5 separate regions of the Homo sapiens genome follow, and regions 1, 2, 3 and 5 are each linked to region 4. The links are contacts of gene promoters, found by promoter capture Hi-C in blood cells and fetal thymus (Javierre and others, 2016). All regions are on one chromosome and are shown on one strand. Each heading gives the region's core, a stretch centred on a gene start or on the middle of the fragment in contact. The rest is flanking DNA. Distances are from core to core; before and after follow the strand shown. Region 1 holds the start of MID2 (midline 2). Region 2 overlaps MID2 (midline 2). Region 3 has its middle 21 kb from the start of TEX13B. Region 4 holds the start of FRMPD3-AS1 (FRMPD3 antisense RNA 1). Region 5 overlaps MID2 (midline 2).

What was found. The method cuts DNA at HindIII sites, captures the fragments that hold promoters and counts their contacts. A CHiCAGO score of 5 or more calls a contact.
Region 1: the fragment with the promoter of MID2 here is called in contact with the fragment with the promoter of FRMPD3-AS1 in region 4 in 6 of 17 cell types (M0 macrophages, naive CD8 T cells, monocytes and 3 more); the score reaches 9.5 in M0 macrophages.
Region 2: a contact is called between a fragment that was not itself captured here and the fragment with the promoter of FRMPD3-AS1 in region 4, in 1 of 17 cell types (M1 macrophages). The highest score is 5.2, in M1 macrophages.
Region 3: a contact is called between a fragment that was not itself captured here and the fragment with the promoter of FRMPD3-AS1 in region 4, in 1 of 17 cell types (M2 macrophages). The highest score is 6.0, in M2 macrophages.
Region 5: a contact is called between a fragment that was not itself captured here and the fragment with the promoter of FRMPD3-AS1 in region 4, in 2 of 17 cell types (M0 macrophages and non-activated CD4 T cells). The highest score is 5.5, in M0 macrophages.

Annotation. Positions count from the first base shown.
Region 1 is chrX:107,824,554-107,827,253 of GRCh38, reverse strand. It overlaps MID2 (midline 2), which reads right to left and starts at 1,388. Exons shown (of 10, transcript NM_012216.4): 1 at 824-1,388. The coding sequence starts at 827. RefSeq lists silencers at 571-620, 781-970. The HindIII fragment of the contact is 8,930 bases long and covers 1-2,700 here.
Region 2 is chrX:107,862,280-107,864,979 of GRCh38, reverse strand. The region is part of intron 3 of MID2 (midline 2); the gene reads right to left. Among named protein-coding and RNA genes, the nearest start is that of MID2, 38 kb to the right of the region's middle. The HindIII fragment of the contact is 209 bases long and covers 1,328-1,536 here.
Region 3 is chrX:108,001,606-108,004,305 of GRCh38, reverse strand. No RefSeq gene overlaps it. Among named protein-coding and RNA genes, the nearest start is that of TEX13B, 21 kb to the right of the region's middle. The HindIII fragment of the contact is 619 bases long and covers 984-1,602 here.
Region 4 is chrX:107,544,444-107,547,143 of GRCh38, reverse strand. It overlaps FRMPD3-AS1 (FRMPD3 antisense RNA 1), which reads left to right and starts at 1,323. Exons shown (of 2, transcript NR_046750.1): 1 at 1,323-1,429. FRMPD3 (FERM and PDZ domain containing 3) reads right to left here. Exons shown (of 15, transcript NM_001388459.1): 5 at 1,303-1,407. The HindIII fragment of the contact is 5,600 bases long and covers 1-2,700 here.
Region 5 is chrX:107,890,205-107,892,904 of GRCh38, reverse strand. All of the region lies in intron 3 of MID2 (midline 2), which reads right to left. Among named protein-coding and RNA genes, the nearest start is that of MID2, 66 kb to the right of the region's middle. The HindIII fragment of the contact is 1,675 bases long and covers 457-2,131 here.

The DNA.
Region 1 (2,700 bases), core at 139-2,638, 280 kb before region 4:
GAGTACAACGACTGCAGGATTTCAATTTCCTGCTCTAAGAAGAAACACCTCTGAAAAATAATGTGCAACACACGAAGTGCTAAGTAACCTAAACCTTATCATCACCAGTAATGTTTCTGTAAATCTACTCCGCCGTTATTTACTTAATTCTTACAAGGCAGGAATGGAAAATCCCCACTCTCCCTGGTTGCGTCGCAGTCTGTCCTGTGGACATATGTAAGTTTTCCCTCTCCCCCACAGAGCTGATTTCACAGCTAGGCCAGAAATAAGGAACCATCCAGACGGAGACTCGAGGATCGCTCCCTGGCAGAAAAGGGATTAAGTTTCACCGGGCCTCCCCGCCGGCAGGGCGTCCGCAGCCACGCCGGCTGCTGCGACAGCACCGCCCGGCAGACGGCCGGCCAAGGGGCGACGCCTGGGCCGAGGAGGCTGCCGGCTGCGGGAGCGTGGGAAGGCGGCCGTGCCCTTTCCCAGACTCGCGCCCAGGCGCCGGGGGATTCGCTCGACTGCCCGCGCCGGGCCCGGCCAGGCTGCGCAGAGGCCTCGGCCGCCCCCGCCCCGCACCCCGGAGTGCAAACTCCGTCCCAGGAGGGCAGTGGCAGGAACCCGGGCCCCAACAGCATGACTGAGAGCCGGAGCTGAGCTGGGGCCCCCGTCGCCGTTTCGAGCCTCGCGGGCCCCATCACCCTGCCTCGCCGAGCCGGAGAGCCCTCGGCCAACGCCGGGCCCCGGCGGCACCTGAAAAGCGGCCGGAGCCGGAGACTAGCCCTGCGAGGGCTACGACGCTCGACCTCCAGGGCCGCGGCGAGGGGGCGCGTTTTACCCATAGCGTTCCCAGGTGCCAGCCATCTCCTCCGCTCGCTCGAGGGCGCTGGGCTCTCGTCTGCCTCCGCAGCGGGTTGGCTCGGGCTCCGGCGCGAGCTCCCGGGCCCCGGTCGCCGCCGCCGCCGCTACCACTGTAGGCCGCCGCCCGCCTTCGCCGCCGCTGCCGCTACCGTCGCCGACGCCGCGCAGCAGCCGGGATCCGCCAGCCCGCGCGCCCCGCAGGGGACAGCACGGCGGCCGCGATGCTACCGCAGCTGGGCCTCCCGAGCTAAACTTAAGAGTTTTCGCCCCTCAGTCCAGGGGCAGCACCATGACACCACGGCAGCACCACACTGTCATTTCCGCCGCCGCAGAGGAAAAAAAAGGCAATCCCTTCCAAAAGGGAGGCGGAGTGGGGGCAAACGGGGCTGGGGCTGACACCCCAAGGGAGCACTGGGAAGGGCCCAAGAAGAAGGGGTGCTCGGCCACCTTCCCAGGCTCACCTTCCGCCGCCCCCGCCACTCCCAGCTCCCCCAGCCCTTCCTCTGGAGGCACGTTTACATGTCTTCTCCCCTGGCAGGAGTGACCGGAGAAACCTGAGCAAGCAAAGGCAGCCGGTGGGTGGGGCTCGGGTTACTACTGTACCTACCAGCTGATTCCAGCAGCCTTTTCTCCAGCGCCCTGTCATCTTGAAGGAAGACACACCGAGAGGGACCCGGACGGGTGTGCGTGTGTGTGTGTATGGTGTGTATGTGCGTGTGTGTGTGTGTGACAGAGCGACAGAGATAGCTAAATGTGTGTGAAATGCAGAAGGAAGGCTATGGCTAAACTCTTCTCCCACTCCCCAATCCCCCTGTCCCCCAACCCCACAAACCCCCAGGTTAGAACAAGAAAGAGGCCTTTGCAACGGGTAATAAGAAGAGAGAGCCGGGTCCACCGCAGAGATCCTCCCTATGAAGCTGCTCTATGCAAAGTTAACTACAGAGTAAAACAAAAATAGTGGAGGAGATAGAAAAGGGCAGACAATTGAAGGAAACCGAACCTCTCTTTCTTTTTACAAAAAAAGAATGGCTGTGTTTTATTGGCCTCGGGCAGAAGTTGTGGAGGTGGATTAAAACCATCAAAAGAAAAAAAAAAGTAGGATTTTTCTTGTACCTTCAAATTGTTGACCAGTAAAACAAGAGGGTCGTTACCACATGGACAATGAGGCAGATGCTAGCTATCCAGCTATTCCAGGTCCCTAATAAGCTAATTGGTCCATTTGGAATCCAGCATCCTCCCATTGGTCTGGAATCAGCCTGTTTGCTGACCTGTCATTGGCTCAGAGACCACCACCCGACTCAAAAGGTGGATGGGAGAGGGAAAGAGCAGGAAGCCCCATAAGAGACTCTGTTTCTAACTTGGGGCAAAAAGGGAGAAGAAGGGGAAAGAAATGAGAAAATGGGAAGACTCACCCCAGCACACACACACACACGCCTCCCATCATTGTGCATAGGAACAAGTCCAGAAAAATTGAGGTATCTCTTGGTATATCCCTTCAGGGAACCAATAGTAATCAGTCAACACTCCTGTTAAACAATGTGCTAGAGAGCACTGAGGTGGAAACCAAGACAAAAGTCACAACCAGGCTCTCCTGATGAAAGTCTGGCCCCTAAGAGAAGTAAAAGTTAGTGAGTCACACTTAAAGCACAGGCAACAAAAGCAAAAATAGGTAAATGGGACCATAAAACTTTCAAACATCTGCACAGGAAAGGACACAATCAACAGAGTGAAAAAGCAACCTACAAAATGATAGAAAATATTTGCAAACCATATATCGGATAATGTGCTAATATCCAGAATGTATAAAGAACTTCTATAGCTCAATTAAAAAAAAAACTCTTAAAAGTGGACAAA
Region 2 (2,700 bases), core at 183-2,682, 320 kb before region 4:
GCTAATGTATTTAAAGCTCTTAGGAATAATTAAGAGTTCTTAGGACTGGCTGAGATAGGGTAAACTTGGATTCAAGATTTGATTTAGGTGAGAGGAGAGGTAGTGAGAATAGACAGAGGCATTGGATTCTCTTTCTGTCTTGAGGTAGTAAATAGCTGATTTCCTGGCTGTATGTGTACTTCTAAGTAATCATTCCATCAAAAGACACCATTAATAATAGCAATGCATTCACTCTTTTTTGAGGAAATCTATATATTTGCAGTCATTGTGGTATTATATTTGTTATTTATATCCTGTTTTAAATGTGCAAACATTAATTATACTTTTGAGAGTACATCTTTACTGTCAAACTCTTAGTAACTGTTAAGAAACCCTGTGTCTCATGGAGACTACTTTTACCCTGAAACATGGTCATGTACAGCCCTAGAATGAGGACCCATCCCGGCAGTCTCAGCAAGAAAATATGGGTCCCAGCGTAAACTCTATGGCTGAGGACAGTGTTGATACCTGGAGCTGCCCACACTATTTCCACCCCTCATGGCACAAAAATAATCTGAGCAAGTAAATGCCTAATTGTGGGTATTATTGCTTCCTTCTGCCAACTCTAGGCAACTCCCTCTCCTCTGTACCCCATGAAGGGCTGTCAGAATATGGAGAGCTGCTCTGGGCTATTAAAGGTAGGCCAATGGCAGGAGTACATAAGAGGCTTACCACAGATTCAGGAACGCCAGGCCCCCAAACAGACCATATGTTTTTCTAGAGCTAGAGCTATTTAGTGGAGAAAAACAAAGGGTTTTCTGGAGCTGCCTCCTACCTATCTGAGCACAAATGAATCGGTGGCAAGTAAACCAACAACTTCTCCACTAGGCTGCACAATGCAATGGAAAGAACATAGACTTTGGAGTGAGAGAAATGTAGAACTGCATCCCAGCTTACTTATGTGTGACCTTGAGTAAGGCATCTAATATCTCTGGCCTTCAAGTTCCTCACTTGAAAAATGGGAATATTAACCAGCTGTATCACAGGATTGTCATAAACACTAAGTGAGATTAGAAATGATGTCTCTAGCACAGTGCCCAGAACAAATTATTCAAGTAAGATTCTCTTCCTCCCAATCCTTGCTTACCGTACCACAGAGCTGGACTCCTCTAGACAGGCAGAGACAGTAAGGACATCTCAATGGCTGTGTGCCTATCTGCTGTGGTGATAGTTGTTTTGGTTTCAAGTCTGGGTTTTTAAAACATTTGTTTAGTTTTAGTTGGGTTGATGGCAGGAGAGATTAGAGGTAAAAGTGGAACTAGAAACATTTCAAGGTATAGGATAAGCTTGATAGAGCCTTAGCTGAATTATTAAGATTCCATTAACTTTCCAAGAGCACACTGGAAATGGGGAATTTGGGTGGATTGTGAAAATAGTGGAGCAAACAAGAGGAGCCAAAATTAAGCAAGTCTTCTGGTCATTTAGTGAGTGACCTGGAATTTGAACACAGAAATGAGAACTAGAGGAGGGATGGGAAACGGGACTGTAAGATAAGCTTCACTGTGCCAAAGGAAAAGTGCAAAAGTGGGATGAAAGTGCATTCCTATGTGAACTGTTTCGGCTATGAAGACATGACCACACCTGAAAGCTTACCTGCCCTATAGATGTGAGGGAGGAGGGCGAGGAAAACAATATTAATCCTAACTAATTTTATCCTTAAACCCTGTCATGTGTTAATACCCTCCAAGTATTTCAACTGCAACATTTAATGTCTTCAAAAATGTTACTTTACTGACATAAATGAAGAATTGTCACAAAGTATTTTTTAAAAAGGATTGAATGCATTAGGTCTCTGAAAAATTATAAAGCACTTTCTTTTCTAGTATAAAAATAGGCTATGACCACACACTGGATTGCACAGTTAACTTAGGTTTTTCATCTATATTAAATGTCAATCGTTATATTCTTAATAAGATTGAATGTAATACTCTGAATTAGTCACTACAGTAGTATAAATGAATAGATTGACTGGATCACTGAACTTATTTTCCATTTTTCATGGAAACAATTTTCTCCATCTATAATTCCACAGTGGTTTCAAACTAGGTATTTCATTTTCACAAGACACTAGCAGTTCAAATCTTTCTCAGGAGCTCTTAAGTCTGCTCCCCTTGCTCTTCCATCTCTAACAAAAATATTCACAGAACATTTTTGCTAATAAACATTTTAAATCGCAAATACAAAATTATAGAACTCTCTCTTTTTAAAATTACTAGAGATGAAAGCATGTGACCCTCCCTAAAACTTTTCTTTTGGCTTTGCTTAAAGGCAGTAATCAAGAAGAATTTGGGCAGGATAATGGGCAAATTTACTTAAGTATCAACACGAAGAATCTTTTGGATATTCTTGCAGAAGGGCAGTAAATGTTTCCTTACTAAATAAAATTTGTTTAAATTAGTAACTGCAAACTAGCAGCTTATTGAGCACAATAACCCTTTTTAGTCTATCACATCTGCAGAGTTACTGGTGGGCTAGGTGGAGTCACATGGCCAAGGTACCCAATATTTTTGCTGCTGCAATTTCATTACCACTCCCTCTTCCCAAGAAAAGTTTTAGTTGATATATGTAAAATTTGAAATTGGTTATGAGTATTTGGGAATGATTGTTCTCCCCACTCTCAGAGATAGTGATAAAAAGCTTTGGAAGTCCTGAGGTCAGGGC
Region 3 (2,700 bases), core at 44-2,543, 460 kb before region 4:
ATTCCTGATTCAATTTCAGAACTCTATATTGGTCTGTTCAGAGTTTCCGTTTCTTCCTGATTTAGTCTTGGAAGGTTGTGTGTTTTCAGGAATTTACCCATTTCATCTAGATTTTCTAGTTTGTGTGCATAGAGGTGTTCATAATAACCTCTGAGGATCTTTTGTATTTCTTGGATCAGTTATAATGTCACCTTTGTCATTTATGATTGTGCTTATTTGGATCTTCCCTCTTTTTTCTTTGTCAATGTAGCTAGCATTCTTTCAATCCTGTTTATCCTTTCAAATACACTTTTGGTTTGTTATTTAATGCTTTTTATGAAATTTTGGTCTCAATTTTTCTCAATTTTTCCCTGATTTATTTTATTCTGCTAGATTTTCAGTTAGTTTGTTCTTGTTTTTCTAGTTCCTCTAAGTGTGATGTCACATCATTAATTTGAGATTTTTCTAACTTTTTGAGGTAGGCATTTAGTGCTATGAACTTTCCCCTTAACACTGCTTTTGCTGTCTCCCAGAGATGTTGTCATGTTGTGTTTCTGTTTTTATTTATTTCAAATTTTTTTTAATTTCTGCCTTAATTTAATTGTTTACCCGAAAGCCATTCAGGAGCCAACCGTTTAATTTCCATATGATTGTGTGGTTTTGAGAGATCTTCTTGGTATTGATTTCTATTTGTATTCCACTGTGTTCCAAGTGTATGGCTGGTATGAGTTTAATTTTTTTTTAATTTATTGAAACTTGCTTTACGGCCAAGCATGTGGTCTTTCTTAGAGTATGTTTAGTATGCAGTTGAGAAGAATGTATATTTTGTGCAGTTAGTGGATGGGGTATTCTGTAGATGTCTATTAGATCCAACTGGTCAAGTGTCATTTTGGTTTCAATTCTCAAGTCCAGAATTTCTTTGTTAGTTTTCTGCTTGATGATCTGTCTAATGCTGTCAGTGGGGTATTGAAGTCCCCCGCTATTATTGTGTGACTATTTAAGCTTTTTCATAGATCTAGAAGTACTTGTTTGATGAATCTGGGTGTTGCAATGTTGGTGTGTGCATATATTTAGGATAATTAAGTCTTCTTGTTGAATTGAACCCTTTGACATTATGTAATGCCCTTCTTTGTCTTTTTTTACTGTTGTCGGTTTAAAGTCTCTTTTATCTGATGTAAGAATAGTGACTCCTGCTCTTGCTTGTTTCCCTTTTATGTGATAGACCTTTCTCCAACCCTTTACCTTGAGCCTATGAACATCATTAAGTGTGAGATGAGTCTCTTGAAGACAGAAGATGGACGGATCTTTTTTTAATCCAACTTGCCACTCTGTGCCTTTTAAGTGGGGGCATTTAGATCATTTATATTCAAGGTCAACATTAATATGTGAGGTTTTGAGAAAAGTGTGAAGTTGTTAGCTGGTTTCTTTGTACTTTCAATTGTATGGTTGCTTTATAGGGTCTGTGAGCTATGTACTTAAGTGTGTTTTTTGGCAGGTATCATATTTCATTTACATGTTTAGAACTCACTTAAGGATCCCTTGTATGGCTGGTCTAGTGGTAGCAAATTGCCTTAGCACTTACTTGTCTGGAACATATTTTATTTCTCCTTTGCTTATGAAGCTTAGCATGGCAGGATAGGAAATTCTTGGTTGGAATTTCTTTTCTTTAAGAAGGCTAAACTAGGCCCCCAATCTCTCGTGGCTTGCAAGGTTTCTGTTGAGAAGTCTGCCATTAGCCTGATGGGGTTCCCTTTGTATATGAGCTGACCTTTTACTCTAGCTGCCTTTAAGATTTTTTTCTTTAGTGTTGACCTTGAAAAATCTGGTGACTATATGCTTTGGTGGTGATCACTTTGTATAGTATCTCACAGGTGTTCTCTGAATTCCTTGTATCTGGATGTCTACTTCTCTAGCAAGATTTAAGAATTTTTCTTGAATTATTCTCTCAAATATATTTTCCAGGTTGTTTACTTTTTTCTCCATCTCTCTCAGAAAAGCCAACAATTCATAGTTTTGGCCACTTTACATAGTCCCACATTTTTCATAGACTTTATTTTTTAAATTCTTTTTTCTTTATTTTTGTCTGACTGGGTTAGTTCAAAAAACAGGTCTTCAAGCTCTGAAATTATTTCTTCTGCTTGGTCTAGTTTATTGATAAAGCTTTCAGTTGCATTTTGAAATTCCTTAAGTGAGTTTTTCTATTCCAGAAGCTTTGATTGATTTCTTTTTAAGATGTTTATATCTTTCATTTCCTGGATTGCTTTAGAAATTTCTTTGTGTTGATTTTCAGTCTTGTCTTGGATTCCATTGAGATTTCTTGCAATCCATGCTTTGAATTCTTTGTTGTTTCTGAGTTTCCATTTTGATTAGCCACCATTGCTGGAGAGCTAGTGTGATTCTTTGGTAGTTTCACTACATTCAGGTTTTTCATGGTGTCAGAATTCTTGCAATGGCTTCTTCTCTTCTAGAGACACTAGCACTTTCTAATTTTTTAATTATTTTTTACAGGTAGGATTTTTTGTCTATTTTCCTATGATATTATTATATTTTTTCTTTCCTTTTCCCTTTCTCCGCCTTTCTAGGGTGTGTGACTGGTGGGGAGCGTCTTTTGGCTTTGCTCCTACAGCCCTATGCACTTCTGTAAGCAGGTTTTTATTGGGCTATGCGGTTTGACTTGTAAGCCAGTAGATGGCGCTTATAGGTAAGAGCCAGCTGCCGTCA
Region 4 (2,700 bases), core at 74-2,573:
GGACTCCATATTACTCCTTTTCCCCTCTGCTCATCAATGATCACTTCTCTTAAAACTTTTCTTCTAGGATTGACACAGATCCCAACCATCAATTATTCAGACAGCTTGCCCAGTGGGGTCCTGTAGTCCCCTGGGTTTGCCAGCCTTCCTCATGCAGAGATGGAGGAGGGCATAGACTGAGTTTGGGAATGAGAGTCAGGGAAATGGAGATGGAAGACACCTGTGTCCTCTATACCTTCTTCTCACTAATTCTGCCTTAAATAATATAGAAGCGCCTGGCACCCTGCTGATTTCCCTGCTCTGGGCCTGCTATCTTCTCCCAACAACTGTGGCTGTTCCTCAGTACGTAAATGCCAAGGGCCTCCAGACAGCTCTGCCCATCACAGCTATCAAAAGCACACAAGTGCCTGTTAGCTCTAGCTATCCCCTCTGTCCCCACCAGGTTATCACTAACTTCTGCAGATTCCTGAAGGACTCGGCCAGAATGCATGACTGCTTAACACACTTCTTTTCTGCTCTTCACCTGCCTCTTCTCATTTGCACATCTGGAGCCGACAGTTCACTGCATGTAAACCTCCCAAAGCAGTGAGAAACACTGTGGCTGGCCAAGACTCCCCAAATTGGCAGCTGCATGGCATGGGCTGTCAAATATTACCTGTCTTTCGAAACAATACCACCCCGTAGTAGATTTTGTATTGTCTCAATCTGAACCTCTTGTCCCCCTCAACATTGCTGAGAGGTATCTGGTAGCAGGGAACAGGTATTTATTTTGCCTCCCCTCTGGTGCTAAGAACATAGCAGGTGCCTAATAAAAACTTGGTGACTTAATGAGAGTCTGTATCATTTCCTTTAGGCAACTTTACTCACCACTGCATGGCCTTTTCTGGTCAAGATGTGGAGTTGCAAGATCACTTAAATGTGAAGAGAGCTCAATTTCACCAGCCACTCATTCCCTGAGTCTTCAGGAAGCCATTATTTCCTTCCTGTTTCTATCAAGTAGCAAAAGATGTTTATGGAGCACTTGCTTTGAGTGTAAGCTACTGTGTTAGGGATGGAAATTTCTCTAAGCATCAGAAGGATCTTGAGTGAATCAATATATATTCCTTCTCCCCACAATGCCTGGGGCCTCTCTGGATGTCACGTATCCCTCTTCACTCACTACTTTTCCCCCTCCAGCACCTGGACGCTCCCACTCTAACCCATTCGGAAAGCTGTCCACTATAAGAAGCCCCAGAGCGAGAGCTTGACAGCCAGGCAGATTATGGCCAGGGGCTGAGGAGAGGGAGCCAAAGCTACACTTACTGCATCTGTTTCTCCAACTGCCACCTGCTCAGAAAATCGAACCTTCACAGGATTGGACCTCAACTTGGCCTTCTTCGCAGCACTGATGAAAGCAGATTTGGGGGACTGGAAAAAGAACAGAGAGATGGTGAGTTCTCCATATCTAGGGAAAGCCTAACCTTTGTCACGTCAGAGTTAAGATGTCCCAGTACAGGTACACTTTGCATTACTGATCAAGGAGTCAATAAACAAATATTAATTACCTATTAGTTGCAAGGCAATGTGCTAAATGCTTCCCTATGTAATTGGTGTGTTCTGAAACAGCTGGGCATGAATTGAATTTGGGTAGATTGAACCCCATTATTAATACTCTAGGCCTAGGGGAGTTTGCAAAAGTTCTTTAGTAATAACATACATTGAGTTTTTATATATTTGGTTTTCTTACAGTGAGATAGACCTAAAGGGTGTCTTTTTATTATTATTATTATATCTGAATATAAGCATCCCAAATAATTTACAGAAATGATCTTGTTCACCTCACAGACATGTCCTGCCCCTAGGAAGGAGTTGCATAATAAATACTATTTTAGATGTGGGAGAAAGGAGACCTAGCACTCCAAAAGGATTTATCCACAGTTACTACACTATTGGGGAATAGAGATGTGAGAGATTTAACCCAAGTCTTCTGGCTTTCTAGTTTTGGGCTCTGCACCACTTTGTTTATCCAATTCTGTAAGAAATGCCCAAAAAATCAGCCAGGCTTGTATTTATTTATTTATTTTTAGACGGAGTTTCACTCTTGTCGCCTAGGCTGGAGTGCAATGGTGCAATCTCGGCTCACTGCAACCTCCGCTCCCTGGGTTCAAGCGATTCTCCAGCCTTGCCTCCTGAGTAGCTGGGATTACAGTCATGTGCCACCACACCCAGCTAATTTTGTATTTTTAGTAGAGATGGGGTCTCACCATGTTGGCCAGGCTGGTCTTGAACTCCTGACCTTAGGTGATCCACCTGCCTCAGCCTCCCAAAGTACTGGGCTTACAGGCCACCATGCCTGGCTGGCTTTTTAGTTCTTGAAAACTCTCCCACAATTTTATCAGAAGCATGATTAGCAAACACTGGAAACTAAGCCTTTCCTGGGTGCCCCTTGGATTCTAGCTCCCTGCTGAGCTCTGTAAGGCCCAGCAATTAGGAATACAGGAGTCGTGCTGAGGGGCATCCTCATTGTCTTTGGGGGGGCGTTTATTCATTCTTTTGACAAATTTAGCAAGGGCCTACTACATGCCACACACTGTTCTAGGTGATGAGGGATAGAGCAGTGAATAAGACAGACAAAACTCCCTGGCCTCATGGAGCATCCATTCCAGCAGGAATAGACAGACGATAAATATCTTTTAGGTAGCAAAGAAGGACTTTGAGGAA
Region 5 (2,700 bases), core at 45-2,544, 350 kb before region 4:
ACCTGTTTGAGGAGTGCTACAAAAGAGGTTTATCACGTAAAAAGGATAATCTTTGGGTGCTTATAAGATGGGGATTTAACCAACAGTTGTCAAGTGGGGAGCTTAGATGGTCAAGGAAGGCTTCCTAAGGATGTGATATTTTTAAGGAATGAATGAGAGTTAGCTAGAGGAAGGGGAGATTCACAGCAGAGAAGACGAAGACAGCAAAAAGGTCTGGGAGACCATGCTAGAGAGGTAGGTAGGGGCCAGATCATAATGGGTTTTAAAGGCAGTGGGGGAACCATTAAAGGGTTTGTGGTAGGGAGTGACATGACAGGTTTTGCATTTTACAAGTTCATTTCCACAGCAATGTGGAAAATGGATAGGAGGGGAACAGGATGGGCCAGAGAGACCAGTTAGAAACTGCAGTTTCCAAAATGATTGTGGCATGGCCATGGCTGCTACCTTCAGGAAGCTTCTAGTCCAACCAAGGAAACAGCCTGTAACCAAGAAATTCCTTCATGGAAGAGCAAGCAGTCTAATAGAGGTTTGCACAGGCTGTTCCACCCAAGTTCATGTGACTAGTGGGTGACAGAGCCAGCAGCAGAACCCAGGTTTCCTGATTTCTAGTCTAGGGCTTTTTCCAAGGCCATCCTTTTCACTGCCTTCACAACCAAGGAATTATGGAAAGGGAGGAGAACAAAGCAAGCCAGTGAATGTTTCCGCCTTCTTAAGTCTCAGATCAGATTGTGGGGAGCATTTAGCCACTCTCTGTACTCAAGTCTGACATAAGCACTCCTCCCAAGACATTTGTTTCTGAGGGATGGATTCACCATCGTGATACTCCCTGTATATATACAGAGCAAGGAATTTCTACTGGGAGGGCCAGGGAAATTTGAACTCTCATAGCTAAGGTCGAAAAGGGCATTGTTATGAGAAAGAGGTCATTCTTTCTGAGACAGGGAACTCTGGATGACAAAAGGGAAAAAATCTGATTCCAGGCAGACAGAAAACAGTCTGATTCCAGCCCAACAGAAGAAGCAAGGGCCCAAGTAGAAGAGTGAAAATAGCTGAAGAAGAGCCTATGTTGCTTCTAAGCTGAGGGAGTAGAGAAATAGGAAGTACCAGGAAAGAGCCTGAAAGACAAGGACCAGAGGAATTCTGTTTGTAAGCATCAGAGGGAAGGGAAGCCTCAGAATAATAACCAACGCTGAACTCTGTGACTGGGCAACAAAGAGGTCTTGAGAACATATTTCCAGAGGTCTCAACTACCTTGTGAGTCAAGAAATAAACAAAGGGGTTTCTACGGGGAAAACCCCAAGGGGGTCAGAGGCCCTGATTAGGATGGGCTGGGCGCAGTGGTTCACACCTGTAATCCCAGCACTTTGGGAGGCTAAGGCGGGCAGATCACTTGAGGTCTGTTTTAGGCTCAGCCTGACCAACATGGTGAAACCCTATCTTTATTAAAAATACAAAAAATAGCCAGGCATGGTGGCGCATGCCTGTAATCTCAGCTACTCGGGAGTCTGAGGCAGGAGAATCACTTGAACCTGAGAGGCGGAGGTTGCAATGAGCTGAGATTGCGCCACTGCATTCCAGCCTGGGTGACAAGGTGAGACTCTTTCTCAAAAAAAAAAAAAAAAAAAGGTATAAAACAAACAGGAGGATGGAGCCAAGATGGCCGAATAGGAACAGCTCCAGTCTACAGCTCCCAGCGTGTGTGACGCAGAAGACGGGTGATTTCTGCATTTCCAACTGAGGTACTGGGTTCATCTCACTGGGGAGTCTCAGAAAGAGGGTGCAGGACAGTGGGTGCAGCGCACCGAGCGTGAGCCGAAGCAGGGTGAGGCATCGCCTCACCCAGGAAGCTCAAGGGGTCAGGGAATTCCCTTTCCTAGTCAAAGAAACGGGTGAGAGACAGCACCTGGAAAACTGGGTCACTCCCACCCTAACACTGTGCTTTTCCAATGGTCTTAGCAAACGGCACACCAGATTATATCCTGCGCCTGGCTCAGAGGGACCTAATCCCACAGAGCCTCGCTAATTGCTAGCACAGCACTCTGAGATCAAACTGCAAGGTGGCAGCAAGGCTGGGGGAGGGGCACCCACCATTGCCGAGGCTTGAGTAGGTAAACAAAGCAGCTGGGAAGCTTGAACTGGGTGGAGCCCACCGCAGCTCAAGGAGGCCTGCCTGCCTCTGTAGACTCCATCTCTGGGGGCAGGGCATAGCCAAACAAAAGGCAGCAGAAAACTCTGCAGACTTAAATGTCCCTGTCTGACAGCTTTGAAGAGAGGAGTGGTTCTCCCAGCACACAGCTGGAGATCTGAGAACAGACAGACTGCCTCTTCAAGTGGATCCCTAACCCCCGAGTAGCCTAACTGGGAGGCACCCCCCAGTAGGGGCAGACTGATACCTCACAAGGCCGGGTACTCCTCTGAGACAAAACTTCCAGAGGAAAGATCAGGCAGCAACATCTGCTGTTCACCAATATCCACTGTTCTGCAGCCTCTGCTGCTGATACCCAGGCAAACAGGGTCTGGAGTGGACCTCCCACAAACTCCAACAGGCCTGCAGCTAAGGGTCCTGACTGTAAGAAGGAAAACTAATAAACAGAAAGGACATCCACACCAAAACCCCATCTGTACGTCACCATCATCAAAGACAAAAGGAAGATAAAACCACAAAGATAGGGAAAAAACAGAGCAGAAAAACTGGAAACT